Regions from separate parts of the Homo sapiens genome. Here all the other regions are linked to region 1. Evidence: promoter capture Hi-C in 16 types of primary human blood cells and fetal thymus (Javierre and others, 2016). All regions are on one chromosome and are shown on one strand. Each heading gives the region's core, a stretch centred on a gene start or on the middle of the fragment in contact. The rest is flanking DNA. Distances are from core to core; before and after follow the strand shown.

Region 1 (2,599 bases), core at 68-2,567:
TCACTTTATATAAAATATCTCATTTAGCTTCCCCACCCCAAACTGTAAGAGGGTTGTTCACAGATGAAAAAATTGAGACTCAAAGAGATTAAATACCTTACCCCAAATAGCAGTGATCATCTACCAAATCGTGAGTTATTTACAAATGAGAAAATGGAGACTCAGAGAGATTAAATAATTTGCCCCAAACCACAGTGATCATCCTGGTAGAGCTAAGATTCAAACCTTGAGGTCTGGCTCACAAGTCGGTGAAGTGAGGCTCATCTCTCTACTTCCTACCTGGGAAGGCACACTGAAAAGTAAGTCCAGAAGCTGACGGAAAAGTGAGGAACCTCTGACTGCAGATTAATTTAGACAAGCGGGCTAAGAGAAAGGGAGCAAGGATTAAGGGCAGATAATAACAAAGGGATCCACGGAACTTCCACTGAATGATCAAATTAGATTTCGTGTGACAGGTTTTTGTTTTTGTTTCTTGAAGTTTTGTTTTGTGCAAAACTTCAAGACAGCAGTGATTATGTGATTAGGAGTCTTGGCCCCTTTGATGTTGGCTCCGTTACTGCATGCCCAACTAAAGCTTCTAATAGCTGGGGACATTTCAGAGGCTGAACAAAGAGTTTATTAAAAAGAGTTACTCAGGAAAAGTGAAGACCAAAGAATGGAGGATTGGAGGCTGTTAAATAAAACCAAGTAGTCTGCCTCAGCTACATCACTTATCACCAATGCAACAGCCAGGACTGGAGGTATCGTTCTAAATCTGCACTGGGGAAAACCTCTGGGTCCCTGATGATAGAGACATGGGGCTGGTGTGCTGCTGTCTCTGACTTTTAGTTCTAGGTAGGATAAGAGCTACTATCAAACCTTTTGTTGAAACTGAATTTAAATTCATTATAAGCAAATAGTGAGGGACTGAAATAAACAGAATGCCTTGTCTGAGAGTTGTTTTAGCAGAAATGAAAGAACAGTCAAGACTATAAGCATAGGAAGACATGAACAACACAGATGCAGAAGAGACTATTTCAAAAAACGTTTCACAGTTTTACAAGGTGAAAAAATGAAAAGGAGAAACCTGCCCACACAACCGAGGGCACTATCTTGTTTTGGACTAGGAAGTCATATTATACTGTCTTGATACTCTTCCTGTCATCCCATCCCCACAGCCTTAGAAGGCAGCCCCGGAACCGAAGGCCACCTCTTGCGGCTGCGAGCGTCGCCTCAGCAACCGCACCCACGGCGCAGGCCCGGTAGGCGGGGCGGAAGCCTGTCGGATGTCGCGAGAGTTCCCAAGCGGTAGGCGGCGGCGCCGGGAGAGAAGCGCCGCCTAGCTGCGCTTCCGCAAAGATGGCGGCGGCTGCGGGTAGCTGCGCGCGGGTGGCGGCCTGGGGCGGAAAACTGCGACGGGGGCTCGCTGTCAGCCGACAGGCTGTGCGGAGTCCCGGCCCCTTGGCAGCGGCAGTGGCCGGCGCGGCCCTGGCAGGAGCAGGAGCGGCCTGGCACCACAGCCGCGTCAGTGTTGCGGCGCGGGATGGCAGTTTTACAGTCTCCGCACAGGTACAGGACTAACTCCTTCTGCTAGCCCCAGTCAAGCTCCTCCCTCCCCTGACGCCCTTAGGCGGGGAGTGGTTTGGCTCTGGGCGGCTCTCCCGGAGCCGTGGGTGGAGGTGCCGCTGCGGATCGGAGCGCCCTGCGACTGGTGGGACTCGCTCCTTCCTGGACCGGCCCCCGGCCTGAGTCCCCGAGGGCCTTCGAGGCTGGTGACCGGAGATTCTGCCTCCCTTGGGAGAACCCCGCGGACGCTGAACACCACGGCCCACAAAACTGGCCGCACTAATTTAGTGGTGATGAGTGTGGGCGTGTCTTAATTCGAGGCTCCTAATTCAGAATCTCACTGCGCCTCGCCTCTTGCTACCTCTCTGGTCAGTGAAGTGGCATTCACATCCGCAGGTGGTTTGCGTCCAGTTACCCCTGTGGGATATACCTTTGTTAAGCTTTGCAACTAAGTTTTACGATCTTTTCTTTGTATAGCATGATGAAGTTCTGTCGATTGCTTTTTTAAGTCACGAATGTGTCAGCCACAAAAATTAACCAGTTGATTTCCAGATTTTATTATCAACTTTAAGGAACATTATTGCATGATTATAAACCTTAATATCTTAGTGGACCATAAGTTCTAAGCAAAAATTGCTCCTAAAACCTCCATCTATTAAAGACAAGAGTCCGCCGGGCGCGGTGGCACACGCCTTTAATCCCAGGGCTTTGGGAGGCCGAGGCGGGTGGATCTCCTGAGGTCAGGAGTTCGAGACCAGCCTGGCCAACATGGTGAAGCCGCTCCCCACCCCAGCCCCGCCCCCCCGGTCTCTACTAAAAAATATAAACAATTAGCTGGGTGTGGTGGCGGGAGGCTGAAGTAGGAGAACCGCTTGAATCCGGGAGGCGGAGGTTGCAGTGAGCCAAGATCGAGCCATTGCACTCCAGCCTGAGCTACAAGAGCGAAACTCCGTCTCAAAAAAAAAAAAAAAAGATTCAAGTTCCCTATTTCAGGATAAATGATGTTGTAACGCATTTGAAAATTTGAATGAGTAGTGCTTTAAAATTTTTGTAG
Region 2 (2,599 bases), core at 58-2,557, 1.5 Mb before region 1:
TACTCAATAAAACGTTACACTCATTCTCCAAGCCCACGTGTGATCCGATTCTGGTACACCAAGGCAAGAACCTGGGATACAGAAATATCTCTGTCCTTGTGATAAGGCAGGGGTCTACTTGAGCTGACCAACACAAGCTGCCTACAGATGGCTAAACTAAAAGAGCACCCTGTAGCATGCCCACTGGGGCTTCAGGAGTTGTAAACATTCACCCCTAGACACTGACTTAGGGTGGGAGCTCCACAGCCTGCCCATCTGTATGCTCCCCTAGCGGTTTGGGCAGCGGGGCACTGAAGAAGCGAGCCACACCCCTATCATCCGCCCTGCGAGGAGGACAAGGGAACTTTTCTGTTTCCGTGTCAAAAAGTTCCTCAAGACAAAACCTGATGAAACTATTCAATAGAGACTTTATGAGCCTTTAGACTCAAGGAGAACTGTTTCTGGGCCTGGGTAACTAAGTAACACAAAATCGGGGAGTAGCTCCCCACTACCTGGGGTCAGAAGTTGTGGGAGAATCAGAGGCAGGTCTGTGACATGGTTAACAGCAGGCTGAGACGGATGGGTAGACGCATCACAGTGACTGCAACAGACGGTTTTCTTTGGAAGCATGAGTGTGCAGCCCTGAAGGCTGTCCAAGAAATAGCTGCTGATAGTTAATGCATGGCAAAGGGGGATTTAAATCTCCTTACAAGTTGTAGCCAGTTTATTTTTGAGCTATATATATTTGGATCTGAGTATTCATGACTCATCTCTCTGACTGAAACCTATGCGTATATATTAAAATCTCAAAAGCAGAAGTTTGAGTTACATAAAAAGCAGACTTTGATTTCACAATAATTGTCAGACGCATGGTTTGAAAAAGTGGCTGGTGAGGATGACAGGACACATCCTGAAAATATTAGCAGTGAGTTTTAATAGCATGATTATGTTTTGTAAGGCAGTGAGTTCAGAAATATTTAGTTTTCTGTCATGTTATATGTCAACCATTGCAGTTTGGCTTCTCTGCTGCTCTGTTTCATATTTTTTCTCATTCCAGGACCTAGGTTAAAGGAGAACCTCTTATTTGAGATGTGCCAAGCATCACAGTTTTGGATTTATTTGGGAAAAATCAAGGGAGCTGGTGGAAACACACAATAGATCTTAAAGCTTCTGTTCCACCTGGCATATGTTAACACAAGTATACTCCTACACCAAGGCAAGTCGCCTACCCATACCTGGTATCAACAGAGCCTGGATGTATATGCTTATCCTTCACAAGATGCTGCAGTTCACTTGTCTGCAGATGGGCTTGTATAATCCTCTAAATTATTTAGAAACTAAAAGTAAGGGAGAATGATGACCGGTTCAGAACAATAGTGCAGTCTACCACACAGGTCAGTATCCAGCTTGTATTCTTCGATTTTCCTTGCTTTTATTTTCTGTCTTCAAAAATCAGCCAGTTTTACATTATTTCAAAACAAAAAGCTTTATTTGTTTTATCATTGAATTAGCTCAACTCATGTAGCATGACGCTTCTGTTTCCAACAGTTACACATTCTGGTTTTTTCTAGGACACTGGTTTTTAAGCTGAGACAGGCTTCCTTAAGTTTATGGGTCACTTGGTACTGACTCAGAAATAACAGTTCTCTAATTGATTCATGGCCTTTTATGTACAGATTCTGCGTGATTTTCTTGTTAACTCTACCTATGATATTATAAATCATAATTCATGGGCATAGGACCGTGTTTCAAGTTAAATACTATTTCTGTCGTATTTTAATAGTGCAACAAATATATTAGATAATAAATAAGAATGCTTCAAAATATTCCTGTAGCTATCAAATATGATAGATGTTTCAGATAGTCTTCACGTCTTAATTTTTATAGCTAAACTTGAATTATTTCAAAGCATTTCTCTTTGCTATAAATAATGAAACTAATGAGCAGTGCAGTGAAAATTTATTTTAGAGTTCCAATAGTCCACCATTAATAATCAATGTCTTTGGCCGGGCACGGTGGCTCACGCCTGTATCCCAGCACTTTGGGAGGCCGAGGCAGTTGGATCACCTGAGATCAGGAGTTCGCAACCAGCCTGGCCAACATAGTGAAACCCCGTCTCTGCTAAAAATACAAAAAATTAGCTGGACATGGTGGCAGGCACCTGTAATAATCCCAGCTACTCGGCAGGCTGAGGCAGGAGAATCACTTGAACCCGGGAGGCAGAGGTTACAGTGAGCCAAGATCACACCATTGCACTCCAGCCTGGGCAACAAGAGCGAAACTCTGTCTCAAAAAATAAAAATAAAAATAATAATAATAATAATAATAATGTTTTCATGCAATGTCTGTGTGGCCACTTCCTTTTCTATTTTGTTCAACTCAGTTATTTTGTGTAACGAACTTTGCCCATTTGTCTTTGAAATTTATTCCATGGCCATAGTAACTTTTGGCTTTATTTAACATTTTAATTTTCAAAGTTTTCACGTCAATTTTTTACTCTAATTTCTTAATACCAATTCCAGGTGATCTGTTAAATGATTTGTTGTAGAGCAACAGATTTTGAAGTTTCATTGAAATATTATAATGTTCTTACCTTTCTATAGACCTAATACATTTTTCT
Region 3 (2,599 bases), core at 55-2,554, 1.5 Mb before region 1:
TATGCCCTGGAGTAATGGAAACATGCATGAGAATGTTTAGCTTGACATTGTTTATTAAAGTGAAAAATTGGAAATCAACTAAATGTTTATCATCTGGATAAAATACATTTGTGGTACTTTTATACAAATAAAAAAGTAACATGTAGCATAATCACTTCCTTTGAATGCTTTTACAGGTGCTGAGCGCAATTCAAAATTGTTTTCATGTATTATTTTATTTTATCCTCATCATACCTCTAGGAGTACTAATCATCATCATTATCATCATCATTGTCCTCATTTTACAGAGAAGTGAGTGAGAGAGCTGGGATATGACTTCAGGAATCCATATTCTTACTAACTACATTATGCTGGTTTTGGAGAATTGTAGAGGACCTCTGAGGAATCTTCCTGAGGAATGCTCTTTGCAAAGCTCTGCTCCAGAGGTGACTAGATGATGGCACACCCCTGTTCTTGCCTTCCTGGCCTCCTGTTAATATGCAGTCTCTCAGACCAAGATTGATTCCTAGGGTACCTATGTGAGAAAAGGCAGATATGTGTACAGACAAGAGAATGGTAGCTTACTTGGGACGATAAACTGCTTGTTATATAAAATTTTTGAGGGTTGTAAATTAACATTGCACACTCTGAAAAAATGTAATTTTATTAAATTAAAGGAATAACATAGACTCTTGAGTGTAAGAAGAGATAATAGACTTAATATAAACAACCCTAATAACATATTGGCTTGTTGTAAAGGTTCAATGAAATTGTTTATCAATTGCCTGGTGCATGGTAGGCATTTGATAAACATTCTCATCTTTAAATTTTCTGTTTACAGTACTTTTGTTTATTTTAACACCTCAATAACCCACGGACTTTCATAGAAAAGCCCTTGAGGTCTGAATTTATGAATTTGTATGTGCTGATTTCAGCATGTTCTAAGTATACAAGCAAAGAAGCAAGAAATAATAATGGTTTTGAGTAGTTGTGCAAAGTCAGCAGCCAGAGAGATGTCTAAGAACAAGTAAAAGTTTATTAATAAGTAGGGGAAAGTGGAGGTCACTTATTGGCCAAGACCAAATAAATTTCAGAGATAGTTAATAATTCCTATCAGCAGTATACCCTTGAAAATAGTCATGAATTTCTGTCACCTTGATAGAATATTTGTTGCTGTTTCAGATGATGGCGAACAGCACTGAACAAAACAAAAACCTCAGCCACCATGAAGCTCAGCGACAGACAATAAACACATACACAGGTAAAATATATGTCATGTCAATATTGAGAGAGAGGGTGACAGGTGTCTTGCTGGAAAATAAAACAGGAAAAGGTGTTATGGTGTGAGGATGGTGCCAGGAATTACAACTGAAAATTAGGTAGGAAGGTTCCGTGGAGAAGCGGCATTTGAGTAAAGACCTGAGGGGTGGGTGAGAGTGAGGGAAAGACAATTTCTGAGGAGAGAGAATAACAAATATAGAAGAATTCCTGTTAGTTCCAGGAACAGCAAGAGGTCAGTTTGCTTGACTGCAGTATCCAGGAAGTGAGTGGAGACGTGGACGTCTCAATCACGCAACACTTTGCTAGCCACTGAAAAGACATTGGCTTGTTTCTGAGTGAGATGGAAAACCATGGAATGATACCTCATGGACTGGATTACATTCCTTCCAAATTTGTATGTGGAAGCTCTAGCCCCCAGAGTGAATGCATTTGGAGGTCAAGCCTTTGGAGAGATAATTAAAGTTAAATGAGGTTCTATGATTGGAGCCCTATTCCAATGGGACTGGAGCCCTTATTAGAAGAGATTGAGACATGTGAGAGATCACAGGGATTCACGTGCTCAGAGGAGACCATGTGAGGACACAGGGAGAAGGTGGCCACCTGCAAGCTAAGGAGACAGGCCTCGAGAGAAACTGAACCTGCTGGCACCTTGACATTGGACTTTCAGCCTTCAGAACTGTGAGGCAACGTTTTACTTGTTTAAGCCACCTAGGCTGTGGTATTTTGTTATGGCACCTCTAGCTGATGTATACAGATACTGATAAGCTGGTATAATCTAGCTTAATTTTTAAAAATGGCATTCAGACTGCCTTGTAGGGAAAAGAGTGCAACGATAGGAGTAGGGTGACAGACGTTTATTGCAATGGTCCAGGTGGGAGGGGACAGTGGCTTGGGCAGAAGTGGTGGTCATTGTGGAGGAGACAGCAGTTAAGGCTACTTTTTACAGTTGGTGCAGTCTGGTGATGGGTTGGACGTAGGGTAAGAGAAAAAGAGCAGAGCTAAGGAGAATTGCATATTTTGGCCCCCAAACAAATGGATGTCTGGAAAAGCAAGTTTAAGGGGACAGATGAGGAGTTTGGTTTTTGGACATTGAGTCAATGCAGAAGTGTCAAGTAAGTAGTTAGATAGATGAGTCAGGAATTGAAAGGAGAGGCAGAGATATAAATATGGATGTTTTAAGCCATGACACTGGATTGGATCAATAAGTGATGGACTGAAGTTAGAGAGAGAAGAGGCTGAAAGCCTAAGCCAGAGGTCACTGGTGAACGCCAATATTTAGAGTTTGGGGACATGAGGAGAGAGAGGCAAGTGCTGTGAAAGAAATAGCTAGTGAAATGGA
Region 4 (2,599 bases), core at 1-2,500, 1.4 Mb after region 1:
TCAGGGCGCTGGGGGCACTTGGGGAACTCATGGGGGCTCAAAGGAACTAGGAGATCGGGACCTCGAAGGGGACTTGGGGGGTTCGGGGCTTTCGGGGGCGGTCGGGGGTTCGCGGACCCGGGAAGCTCTGAGGACCCAGAGGCCGGGCGCGCTCCGCCCGCGGCGCCGCCCCCTCCGTAACTTTCCCAGTCTCCGAGGGAAGAGGCGGGGTGTGGGGTGCGGTTAAAAGGCGCCACGGCGGGAGACAGGTGTTGCGGCCCCGCAGCGCCCGCGCGCTCCTCTCCCCGACTCGGAGCCCCTCGGCGGCGCCCGGCCCAGGACCCGCCTAGGAGCGCAGGAGCCCCAGCGCAGAGACCCCAACGCCGAGACCCCCGCCCCGGCCCCGCCGCGCTTCCTCCCGACGCAGGTGAGCCCGCCGGCCCCGGACTGCCCGGCCAGGAACCTGGCGCGGGGAGGGACCGCGAGACCCAGAGCGGTTGCCCGGCCGCGTGGGTCTCGGGGAACCGGGGGGCTGGACCAACACACGTCCTTGGGCCGGGGGGCGGGGGCCGCCTTCTGGAGCGGGCGTTTCTGCGGCCGAGCTCCGGAGCTGGAATGGGGCGGCCGGGGAAGTGGACGCGATGGCACCGCCCGGGGTGCGAGTGGGGCCGGGCGCGCGCGGGAGGGGAAAAAGGCGCGGGCGAGCCGCCAGCGCGAGGTTTGTGGTGTCGCCGATGTCCCTTCGGGGTACTCTAGCGCAGCCGCCTGGCTACTTGACCCACTGCCACCAAACGTTTTAAATTCACCGAAAGCTTAGCTTCGAAGCAAAGCTCCGTTTCGCCGGTGAAGCAGGAAGCCTTCGCTGCAGGAACTGACCTTTACCTCTTGGAGCGGCTTCTGCAGAAAAATCCCCGGGCAGAGATTTGGGCGGAGTTTGCCTAGAACTAACGCGGAGCCAGCCGATCCCGGCCTACCCCGGGGCCAAGATTTCAGTGGCTTCCCTTTTTCCTAAACACTTCACGAGGGTCTGTTTCCGGGCTGTGCTCCCCGCCTAGAAGGAAAATTTTTAGGACCCTTGTTCGCGAAGAGGTGGTGTGCGGCTGAGACCCGCGTCCTCAGGACGGTTCCATCAGTGCCTCGATCCTGCCCCACTGGAGGAGGAAGGCAGCCCGAACAGCGCTCACCTAACTAACAGCTGCTGAGAGCTGGGTTCCGTGGCCATGCACCTGGGACTGCCTTGAGAAGCGTGGTACGGCCGTGTCCCCATGTGACCTTAGAGTCCCTTTCGAAACTGCTGTGCACAGTCGGTCACAATTTCAGACACTGGTGAGAAGGGTGGAGGAACCCTCTGGGGACAGCCAGGCAAGGTCGACCACCCATCACCTAAGGGTGGAGAAATTTAAGGGGTGAAGAGTCCCTTTTGCCTTTTCTGGATCCTGGTGATTCACCTAGTGTCTTCCCTAAGGAACTGAACCAACTCCTCCGCTGGCCTCTGGCAGCCCTCCAGGCGGTGCAGGATGGCGTGGGCCCGGTAGGAAGCTGCATGTAACCGCCCAGGGTCGGGAGGCCAGGAGGGCAGCTCCTCCTCTGACTTGAATATTGAAAACAACTTCGTCCTGCTTCTGAGCCCCTCTTAACCCATGACCCCCTAGCCCATTGGGGAGTAAATCTTAATTTACTCCTCTTCCTGAAAAAGGATCTTTAAAACAGGTAGCTTCAACTCAAGCTTTATAAAATAACAATATAGGGTTTCTCGGAACTGTATTTTTCTCAGCTGATGGTAACTGGACAGGTCTGTAGAAGGGTGTATGACCTGGGTTTGGCAGGTGGAAGAGGGCAAAGGATAAACCCCTCCTCCTGCAGCCCCATATTCTTGGCCAGGTGTATTGTTGTAAACCAGGAGAGAGTTTACTTCGGGGAGTATCCTGTTTTCCACTCAGTGAGGGCCAATGAAGAATGTCTAATTCCATAAGATGCTTTTGTTAAAATCGGAATGTTGCTGTCCTCGGTGGTTCTGCTGTTGGGACGGGACTGGCCTGAGCTGTGGGTGCTGTAGCAGGACAACCAGCTCACCTAAGGGCCTCCCAGTCTGGATTATCAATGGGTCAGTGCTGAACCTGGGCTAAAATATTGTTTTTTCCAATGATGTTGTCTTTCCCAAGCTCAGTGAAGCTAAATGTTTCACAGGCCTATGTCAATCTGATGTAACTTTCGTGGCCACCTCTCTCCTGTTAGCCTCTGACCAAGGTGGCACTGGATGGTTTCTGCCTGACCTTGGTGCCCCGTGGCAGCGACTGTGGGTCATGAAAGACATTCACTACGAGCCTGCTTCTGGAGTCCATCAGAAAACGGGATGCAACTTGCCTAAAATGAGGAGAGGAGGATGCTTTTAAGAAAAAGAAGAAGGAGGATTCACTACCAGCTCTGAAGGGTGGAAAAGAGATGATTCATCCGGATTGTGGAGAGGGTGGAATCTTGTTTAGGAGAGCGTTGGTTGTGGCAGGCAGGGTGTAACTATGAATCAGTGAAGACAATTCACATCCTGGGATGAAAAGAAGGCCATGGGCTCACAGGAGATTATCCACTGGCCTCTCCACATCCGCTTGCAGTAAGGAGTGTG
Region 5 (2,599 bases), core at 37-2,536, 1.2 Mb before region 1:
AGCTTTATAGTATGTCTTGAAATCAGATAGTGTACACCCTTTGTTCTTTCTTCCTGTTTTTTGGTACACATTTCTTATTTACTTATTTATTTTTAATTGACAAAATTGTATATAATTATGTACAACATGATGTTTTGAAATATATATATATATATACACACATTTTTGAATGGCTAAATTGAGCTAATTAACATGTGCATTACCTCACATTTTATTTTGTGGTGAGGACACTTAAAATCTAGCAATTCTTAGTAATTTTAAAAAATACAACACAATATTGACTATAGTCACAATCTTGTACAATAGGTCTCTTGACCTTATTCTTCCTAACTGAAATTTTGTATCCTTTGACCAGCATCACCCCAACCTCTCCCCAAACCCCAACCCTTGCTAATCTCCTTCTATTTTCTACATCTGAGTTCAGCTTTTTTAGATTCCACATAGAAGTGAGATCAAGCAGTATTTTTTTGTGTCTGGCTTATTTCATTTAACATAGTGTCTTTCAGTTTTATCCATGTTGTCACAAATGACAGGATTTTCTTCTTTTTTAAGGCTAACATTATGTTGCGTGTATATTCCACATTTCTTTATCCATGCATTCATTGATGGATACTTATGTTGTTTATGTTGTTTCCATACCTTGGCTACTGTGAATAATGCTGGAATGAACATGCAGTGCACATATATTTTTGGCATACTGATTCTATTTTCTTTGGTTATATAATCAGTGTTGGGATTTCTGCATCACATGGTAGTTCTGTTTTTAATTTTTTTGAGGAAACTCCATATGGTTTTTCATAACAGCTGTATCAACTTACATTCCTACCAACAGTGTGCAAGGATACCCTTTTCTCAGCATCCTCGCCAACACTTGTTATCTCATCTTTTTGGTAATAGCTATTCTAACAGGTGTGAAGCGGTATTCTATTATGGTTTTAATTTACATTTGCTTGATGATTAGTGATGTTGAGCATATTTTCATATAACCACTGGCCATTCGTATGTCTTCTTTCAGGAAATATGCATTCAGGTCCTTTGCCCATTTTTTAACTGGGGTATTTCTTTCCTTGCTGACTTGAGTTCCTTATGTATTTTAGATAAGAACCACTTATCAGATGTATGATTTGCAATATTTTCCCCCATTTTGTAGGTTATCTGTTTACTCTGCAGTTGTTTCCCTGACTGTGGAAAATCTTTTCAGTTTGATGTAACCCCATTTGTCTATTTTTGCTTTTGCTGTGCTTTTGAGGTCGTCTTCAAAAAATCGTTGCTGAGACCAATGTTATGGAGCTCTTCCTCTATGTTGTTCTTTGTCAAGATTACATTGGCTATTCTACATTATTTCCATTTCCATATAAATTTTAAACCATCTTGGGAAATTCTAAAAAAAACCTAGGCCAGGCACGATGGCTCACGTCTGTAATCCCAGCACTTTGGGAGGCTGAGGTGGGCGGATCACGAGGTCAGGAGATGGGGACCATCCTGGCTAACACAGTGAAACCCCATCTCTACTAAAAAAAAATACAAAAAGTTAGCCGTGTGTGGTGGCAGGCACCTGTAGTCCCAGCTACTCGGGAGGCTAAGGCAGGAGAATCGCTTGAACCTGGGAGGCAGAGGTTCTTGTCTTGATGTACCTGAAGAATCAGATCACAAATAGACTTGGAGAATGAGTGCAAGGTTTTATTGAGCGGAAGTCACTCTCAGCAGACGGGGGAAGCCAGAAGGGAGATGATTTTCCCTCGACTCTTCTCCCACTGCTCCCTGCAAACTCTGCCTCGTTCCACCCATCGATGGCCTACTGGCCTGCTGGTGTCTGTCAGTGTACTCTTCCACCTGCGTGCTCCTTTCTACTCAGGAGACTGAAGCAGGAGGATTGCTTGAGCCCGGGAGTTCAAGGCTGCAGCGAGCCAAGATTGCGCCACTGCACTCCAGCCTGGGCAACAGAGTGAGGCCCTTTCTCAAAAAGAAAAAAAAGGTACAGCACTGGTCATATTTACCTCTTGCCTAACATTCATAAACACAAACCCTCTGACAGAAGGATGAAGCCCACTTCTCTCATGTTGTGGAAAAGGCCTGGCTGGGAGGCGCCCTGGTCTGCCTCTGACGGGTCTCTTGCCCTGTTTCTGATGCTTCAGACTCAGTATTTCAACCGTAATGAACTACATAAAGTTTCTCAAAATATGTTTGTTTCAGAACTGTAATTTTTATTAAGCAGTTGAACAATCACTTGCTAGTAATTTCCTTTTCCTCTTTGTGTTCTTTGAAAATATTTATTTCTGAAAAATGAGCTTAATTGAAATCTCCTTTATGAAACCACTTTCCTGGACATCTCTGTCCCCATCCAGTTAAAACTGTCCACTCCTCATCTGTGTGTGTCCCTCCACAACAAATGGAATGCCACATGATCACAGCATCTTCAATTATCTTATTCTCATTTATTTATATATTTGTTTATTCTCCATTAATTTTTTTATATTCTTATTCATTTATTCATGTGATGAAATAAAAGTAATTGATAGGAGTCAGCTCTAAGACTTTACTTTGCTTTCAGAATACAAAAAGAAATTTTGAATTTGCCATGTCAATTCTTTTCCCGTCA
Region 6 (2,599 bases), core at 74-2,573, 1.2 Mb before region 1:
CCCTTCAAAGCAAAACTGATTTTACAAAACTCTCATCCTCCCCCGTCTCCTCTCGCCACAGGATCAGGTCAGGTACTGAGTCATACAAACAGGTAATCCACCAAGCTGCACTCCACGCAGTTAAGTGGCTCTAACATAAACTCTCATTGCAAGGGGGGTGGGGGAATGTGAGATAAAAGCACCATTTATCTTTTGCACACTCGCCGAAAATCTACCCATTATACAGTGTAGACCTGGATGAGGGCTGCTTGTGCTCTTTTGATGTGGGAGAATTTGCTTTGTCCCAGAACAGTAGTCAATGGTCCAGCTTTTCTTCTCCCTTGGCAGAATGTGGGTATTTACTTGCTGCACATTCCAGCACTTTGATAGATCGCTGAGCTGAACTTGGCCTGCGCTGAGCTAAGGAGATCAAGACTTGGACAGATTCTTTGTTCTGTCCCCTGGTGTCAGCGACTTGGAGTACTCAGCCTGTCGACTCTGGGGCCTTTCAATGGGAGGACAGATCCTTGAGTTCACAGATAGAGCAACAAAGGTTTGCTTATGGGGTAGTGGCCTCCCCTGAAAAATAGCTTTTTTGTGTCAGGATATTTATCATGCTCTCATGTCATCATTTCAGAGTTTACTGTGGCAGTCTTAGCTCAGACAGTGCATGAAGCTTTTTATCTGTTAATGTGAATATCGCTTTGAAGCCCAGGCAGGGAATACGTTATAAGTTTAGTGATAGAGAAGCTCAAATAGTTGAGTAACAAGTGAGAGAGGATGGAGAAAGATATAGGGCTGCTAATGGAGGGAAAAATTAATCTAATCATCCTTTAGTTAGAGAAACAGATCTTTGTTCCCCACCTTACTCAGAAATCTCAGGTATTTAGAGTCATGTAAGTGTGGTTTCATCTTATTCTTCATCTGGGTACTGATTTGCAATAAAGGAAATATTTCAAAGCATTAAACTTAATTAGATTATTTTTATGCTTATAGAGTGCTAGAATTAGAGGACCTGGAACAAATGGAGAGATTATCTTGTCAACACTTGTTTTGTGGAAGACACATCTCCAAAATCACATTTACATTTTATTTCCATTTTCTTCATTCAGAAAGGCCATGAGACAGATTTTCCTGGAGTCCTATTTTATCAAAATTAAATTCCCTTGAGTTTATTTATTTGTTTAGATTTAAAAATAATCTCAGAGAGAAGTGCTTTCACTTCTGATTTACTTTAGTGTGTTATAAAAACAAAACCCCCGAGCAACCACAGATCTTCTACACACATGGGCAAAATGACTATTGATATTGTTAAAAGCCTCAGATAGAATTCTAAGTGAAGGTACTCAAGAAATATCTATCCACTAAGTGGTGGTAGATGAAACTTAGAAAAAAGAAAAGATAGGCTATGTGCCCTTTCATGGCACTACATAACCTTTAAGTCAAACATCAAATAAAACCTCTTGGAGAGAAAACCTGCTAAGATACCATGTGATTTTTGCCACTAAGTATAGTTAAATATCTAGTGATTTTTACCCATAGAAAATTATGACCAAACTTGCTGGTATTATATTTTTCATGATTATTGAAGAAAAGAAAGTTTGGTTTGTGGGCACTACATATATTTACTTAAAGATGACATGAATGAAGCATGCTGTTAGCTGTTTGCTAAAGTACAATTTTAGTAGAGACTCATATTTATATCTCTTTATAATTTTATTGTATGTAGCTTATATTGTGAGCATTTAGTGAGAAGCAGGACATGACTTTACTTGAGTTAACTGACACTTACATTTCTTTCTGTTCTGATTATCCCCCTACTTTGAAAATAGATTATGGTCTGTCAGGTGTGAGTGAGCTGCCGTCTCTCAGCTGAAACCCACACCAACTACAAATATTTATTTACATATATATTTATTTTACTTCCTTAAACTGATTATTTCTATATACACAGATTTTGTTGTCTATTTGCCCTTCTTGCAAATCTTATTGTATATGTGTAAAAAGCTTAATTACTCTTTTGAATGATCTAGTTACATAGACTAATTTATAAACCTTTTTGAAGAGCACTATAGTTTAAAAGGAAAAATGCTCTGTCAATCTTAAGGCTTCATATTATAGTCAGCTCTTAAAACTATGAGAAAATCTGTACTTTTGTCAATGGGTTTAAATATAAATTCAAAATTGTATTCATAGTAGCATAAAGTGTTTGCAGTGAGCTGAGATCGCGCCACTGCACTCCAGCCTGGGCGACAGAGCGAGACTCCATCTCAAAAAAAAAAAATAATAATAAATAAATAAATAATAAAAATAACATAAAGTGTAGTAGAATTAGGGGTATTGGTTTTAACGTGTTCAACTGCAAGTAACAAAGAACCAAGAACAAAACTGCTTGTTATTTATTTAGCACGTGTTCCAGCAGTAAGCTATCTCAAAGTTTTCCAGCTGTTTGTTCCACTATTCAAAGTATCTTGATTTTTGGTATTTATAATTATCACTTATTTTCTTTTTGTAATAAAAAAGCTATAAAGAAAGATCCAGTATAATTCCATCACCCAGATTCAATAATTCCAAGATTTTGTTTATGTATTCTTTTGCCTTTTCTTATTCTCTCTTTATT
Region 7 (2,599 bases), core at 45-2,544, 1.2 Mb before region 1:
ATGCATTTTTTTTTTTTTTGAGACGGAGTCTTGCTCTGTCGCCACGCTGGAGTGCAGTGGCATGATCTCGGCTCATTGCAACCTCTGCCTCCCCAGTTCAAGCAATTCTCCAGGCTCAGCCTCCCAAGTAGCTAGGACTACAGGCGCCCGCCACCACTACCATTTTTTAGTAGACATGGGGTTTCACCATGTTGGCCAGGATTGTCTCGATCTCATAACCTCGTGATCCCCACTTTCGGCCTCCCAAAGTGCTGGGATTACAGGCATGAGCCACCGCGCCCTGCCAAAAAATGCAATTTTTATTTATGTAGAATTAGTAATAATGTCCCCACTTCCCTTTCTGAATTTAGTAATTTGTCTTCTTTCTTTTTTTCTTAGTTCATTTAGCTAAAGGCTTGTTAATTTTATCTTTTCAAAGACCTTTTTAGTTTCACTGATTTTTTTTCTATTCTCTATTTCATTTATCTCTGCTCTGATATTAATTATTTCCTTCCTTCTGCTAGCTTTGGATTTAGTTTGTTCTTTTGCTAATTTTTTAAGTTGTAAAGTTGGATTGTGATTTGAAATCTTTCCTTTTTTTTTTTTTTTTTTGGGACAGAGTTTTGCTCTGTTGCCCAGGCTGGAGTGCAGTGGCCCGATCTTGGCTCACTGCAAGCTCTGCCTCCCGGGTTCATGCCATTCTCCTGCCTCAGCCTCCCGAGTAGCTGGGACTACAGGGGCCCACCACCACACCTGGCTAATTTTGTTTTAGTAGAGATGAGTTTTCGCCATGTTGGCCAGGATGGTCTCGATCTCCTGACCTCATGATCCGCCCGCCTCGGCCTCCCAAAGTGCTGGGATGACAGGGGTGAGCCACTGCACCCGGCTGATTAAATCATTCTTAGATGTGTGATCTTGAGTAGATTACTTAACTCTTCCATGTCTTGGTTTCCTAGTCTGTAAGAAAAAGATACAATAATAATACCTCACAGGGTTGTTGTGAACCTTAAATATGTAACTGCATGTAAAGCAGATACAGGACTGACATGGAATTAATGCTCAATAAAGGATAGGTCTAATTACTTTGTTACTGAGAAATTGATGTCAGGATATAAAAAAGACTTAAGAAGGGCACACATGCCAATGTATTACCTGTACATCCTTGGAATTTACCACTTCCCACAGATGTATATTGGTCCTCTGTCTGCAAATGATTTTACTCTCATGGCCATAGTGATCCACTGTTACCCACCGACTTACTCATGGCAACAGCTAATACCTTTATTTCCTGCTGTAAAAAAGTCTTTTCATCCGAAATATTCTCAGATTTCTTCTCATCTACTTTAACACCTAGTGGGAGGTGACGTGCTTTATGATCTATGCCTTCATTTAGTTTAGCTAGTTACTTCCGCAAGAAAGAAGACCACATTCATATTGAGAAATTTATAATTGTCCTTACAGTACACAATTTGCATCTAAAATCGATAAATATCATGTTTGACCTAAATCTGTGGGGCTAGAAATGTTCAATTATCTGGTTAATAACACAATTTACATTTGGATCACTTTAGTAACGAATCTTTACAGCTAGGATTGAAAGTGATACTCTACCACAACTAGCACCACTACCTTCTAGACCTGTCTTTTGCTTTGTCTAGATCTACACCAACTAGATGTAGTTGACACTTAGTAGTTTGCACATTGTCTTTGATGTTGGTGAACGTATGTGACTAACACTGCCCTGGCCCCTGAGTTTAAGCAAGTCCAACTACAGCTTCTACAGATGACACCTGATTGACCCAGAAGACCCTAGGACTCACATCTGGACTGCAGCACGGAAACCAGGTACCCGAGAACACAGGCCTACCACTCCCCTTCCCAGCTTTGTTATTCAACTCCTCCTCCAGTTGTGCATAAATTCCTCACAAAGCCTCTCCTTCTTATGCTCACGCTGGTTAGCTTTGGGTTTTGCTATTCACAACAATAGCTTTGTGGAATTTTTTTTTTTTTTAATATACTTGTATGCTCCAATTTAAGAAACTGACCAAAGTTGTGGGTAGGAAAGGAAAGTAGAAAGTTAAAGTGAGGAAACTGTTTAATTTTATAGAGGCTTCGTAGATTTCTAAGTGTTAGCCATAATTTTTCATACATCATTCTATATTTTTGAAATGATTCAATTTGCATGGACATATGAACTATTACATAAAATATAGTAGATATCTAGACTATTGCATAAATATTATTGGATAACATTTTATTGGATAAAACAAAGAGAACCATGAACTCCAATTCAACATTGGAAAAATAACATTGTAAGGCAAAATAAGATTGCAAAGCATTCTGAATGTGTTTAGGTTTAAAATGAAAGGTTAGCTTACCTTAATATATGCTTTCCCGTGGAAAAAATACCATATTCTTAGAAACTCTGAAACATAAATGAGGTAAAGAAATGCACACTCATTATTGATAAAGTGTTACGTGTTTCTTATCACTTTAAATTATTTTTTGCCATGGAACTTTTAGTGTTTTTTTAATATTTGGGAAGTTTTTTTCCCTTGAATATAAGGTGTAAATTCTCATAATGCCATATGGTGGAGCTGGTGGACAAAGATTGACTCCT

The links. The method cuts DNA at HindIII sites, captures the fragments that hold promoters and counts their contacts. A CHiCAGO score of 5 or more calls a contact.
Region 2: a fragment that was not itself captured here is called in contact with the fragment with the promoter of MICU2 in region 1 in 4 of 17 cell types (M0 macrophages, M1 macrophages, M2 macrophages and 1 more); the score reaches 16.1 in M0 macrophages.
Region 3: a fragment that was not itself captured here is called in contact with the fragment with the promoter of MICU2 in region 1 in 1 of 17 cell types (M2 macrophages); the score reaches 6.6 in M2 macrophages.
Region 4: a fragment that was not itself captured here is called in contact with the fragment with the promoter of MICU2 in region 1 in 1 of 17 cell types (fetal thymus); the score reaches 6.2 in fetal thymus.
Region 5: a contact is called between a fragment that was not itself captured here and the fragment with the promoter of MICU2 in region 1, in 1 of 17 cell types (M1 macrophages). The highest score is 7.3, in M1 macrophages.
Region 6: a contact is called between a fragment that was not itself captured here and the fragment with the promoter of MICU2 in region 1, in 3 of 17 cell types (M1 macrophages, M0 macrophages and endothelial precursors). The highest score is 7.2, in M1 macrophages.
Region 7: a contact is called between a fragment that was not itself captured here and the fragment with the promoter of MICU2 in region 1, in 1 of 17 cell types (endothelial precursors). The highest score is 5.1, in endothelial precursors.

Annotation. Positions count from the first base shown.
Region 1 is chr13:21,602,888-21,605,486 of GRCh38, reverse strand. It overlaps MICU2 (mitochondrial calcium uptake 2), which reads left to right and starts at 1,317. Exons shown (of 12, transcript NM_152726.3): 1 at 1,317-1,548. The coding sequence starts at 1,339. RefSeq lists enhancers at 1,134-1,203, 985-1,603, 1,604-2,223 and a silencer at 1,374-1,583. The HindIII fragment of the contact is 1,411 bases long and covers 577-1,987 here.
Region 2 is chr13:23,145,158-23,147,756 of GRCh38, reverse strand. It overlaps LOC124903134 (a long non-coding RNA gene), which reads left to right. Exons shown (of 2, transcript XR_007063719.1): 2 at 1-31. Among named protein-coding and RNA genes, the nearest start is that of LINC00362, 24 kb to the left of the region's middle. RefSeq lists an enhancer at 1-138. The HindIII fragment of the contact is 318 bases long and covers 1,149-1,466 here.
Region 3 is chr13:23,115,831-23,118,429 of GRCh38, reverse strand. LOC105370112 (a long non-coding RNA gene) reads left to right here. Exons shown (of 4, transcript XR_001749786.1): 2 at 288-425; 3 at 1,162-1,240. Among named protein-coding and RNA genes, the nearest start is that of LINC00362, 54 kb to the left of the region's middle. The HindIII fragment of the contact is 4,100 bases long and covers 1-2,599 here.
Region 4 is chr13:20,190,590-20,193,188 of GRCh38, reverse strand. GJB2 (gap junction protein beta 2) reads left to right here and starts at 251. Exons shown (of 2, transcript NM_004004.6): 1 at 251-406. The HindIII fragment of the contact is 914 bases long and covers 794-1,707 here.
Region 5 is chr13:22,805,207-22,807,805 of GRCh38, reverse strand. No RefSeq gene overlaps it. Among named protein-coding and RNA genes, the nearest start is that of LINC00621, 110 kb to the left of the region's middle. The HindIII fragment of the contact is 3,428 bases long and covers 1-2,599 here.
Region 6 is chr13:22,786,999-22,789,597 of GRCh38, reverse strand. No RefSeq gene overlaps it. Among named protein-coding and RNA genes, the nearest start is that of LINC00621, 130 kb to the left of the region's middle. The HindIII fragment of the contact is 1,331 bases long and covers 658-1,988 here.
Region 7 is chr13:22,757,703-22,760,301 of GRCh38, reverse strand. No RefSeq gene overlaps it. Among named protein-coding and RNA genes, the nearest start is that of LINC00621, 160 kb to the left of the region's middle. The HindIII fragment of the contact is 4,442 bases long and covers 1-2,599 here.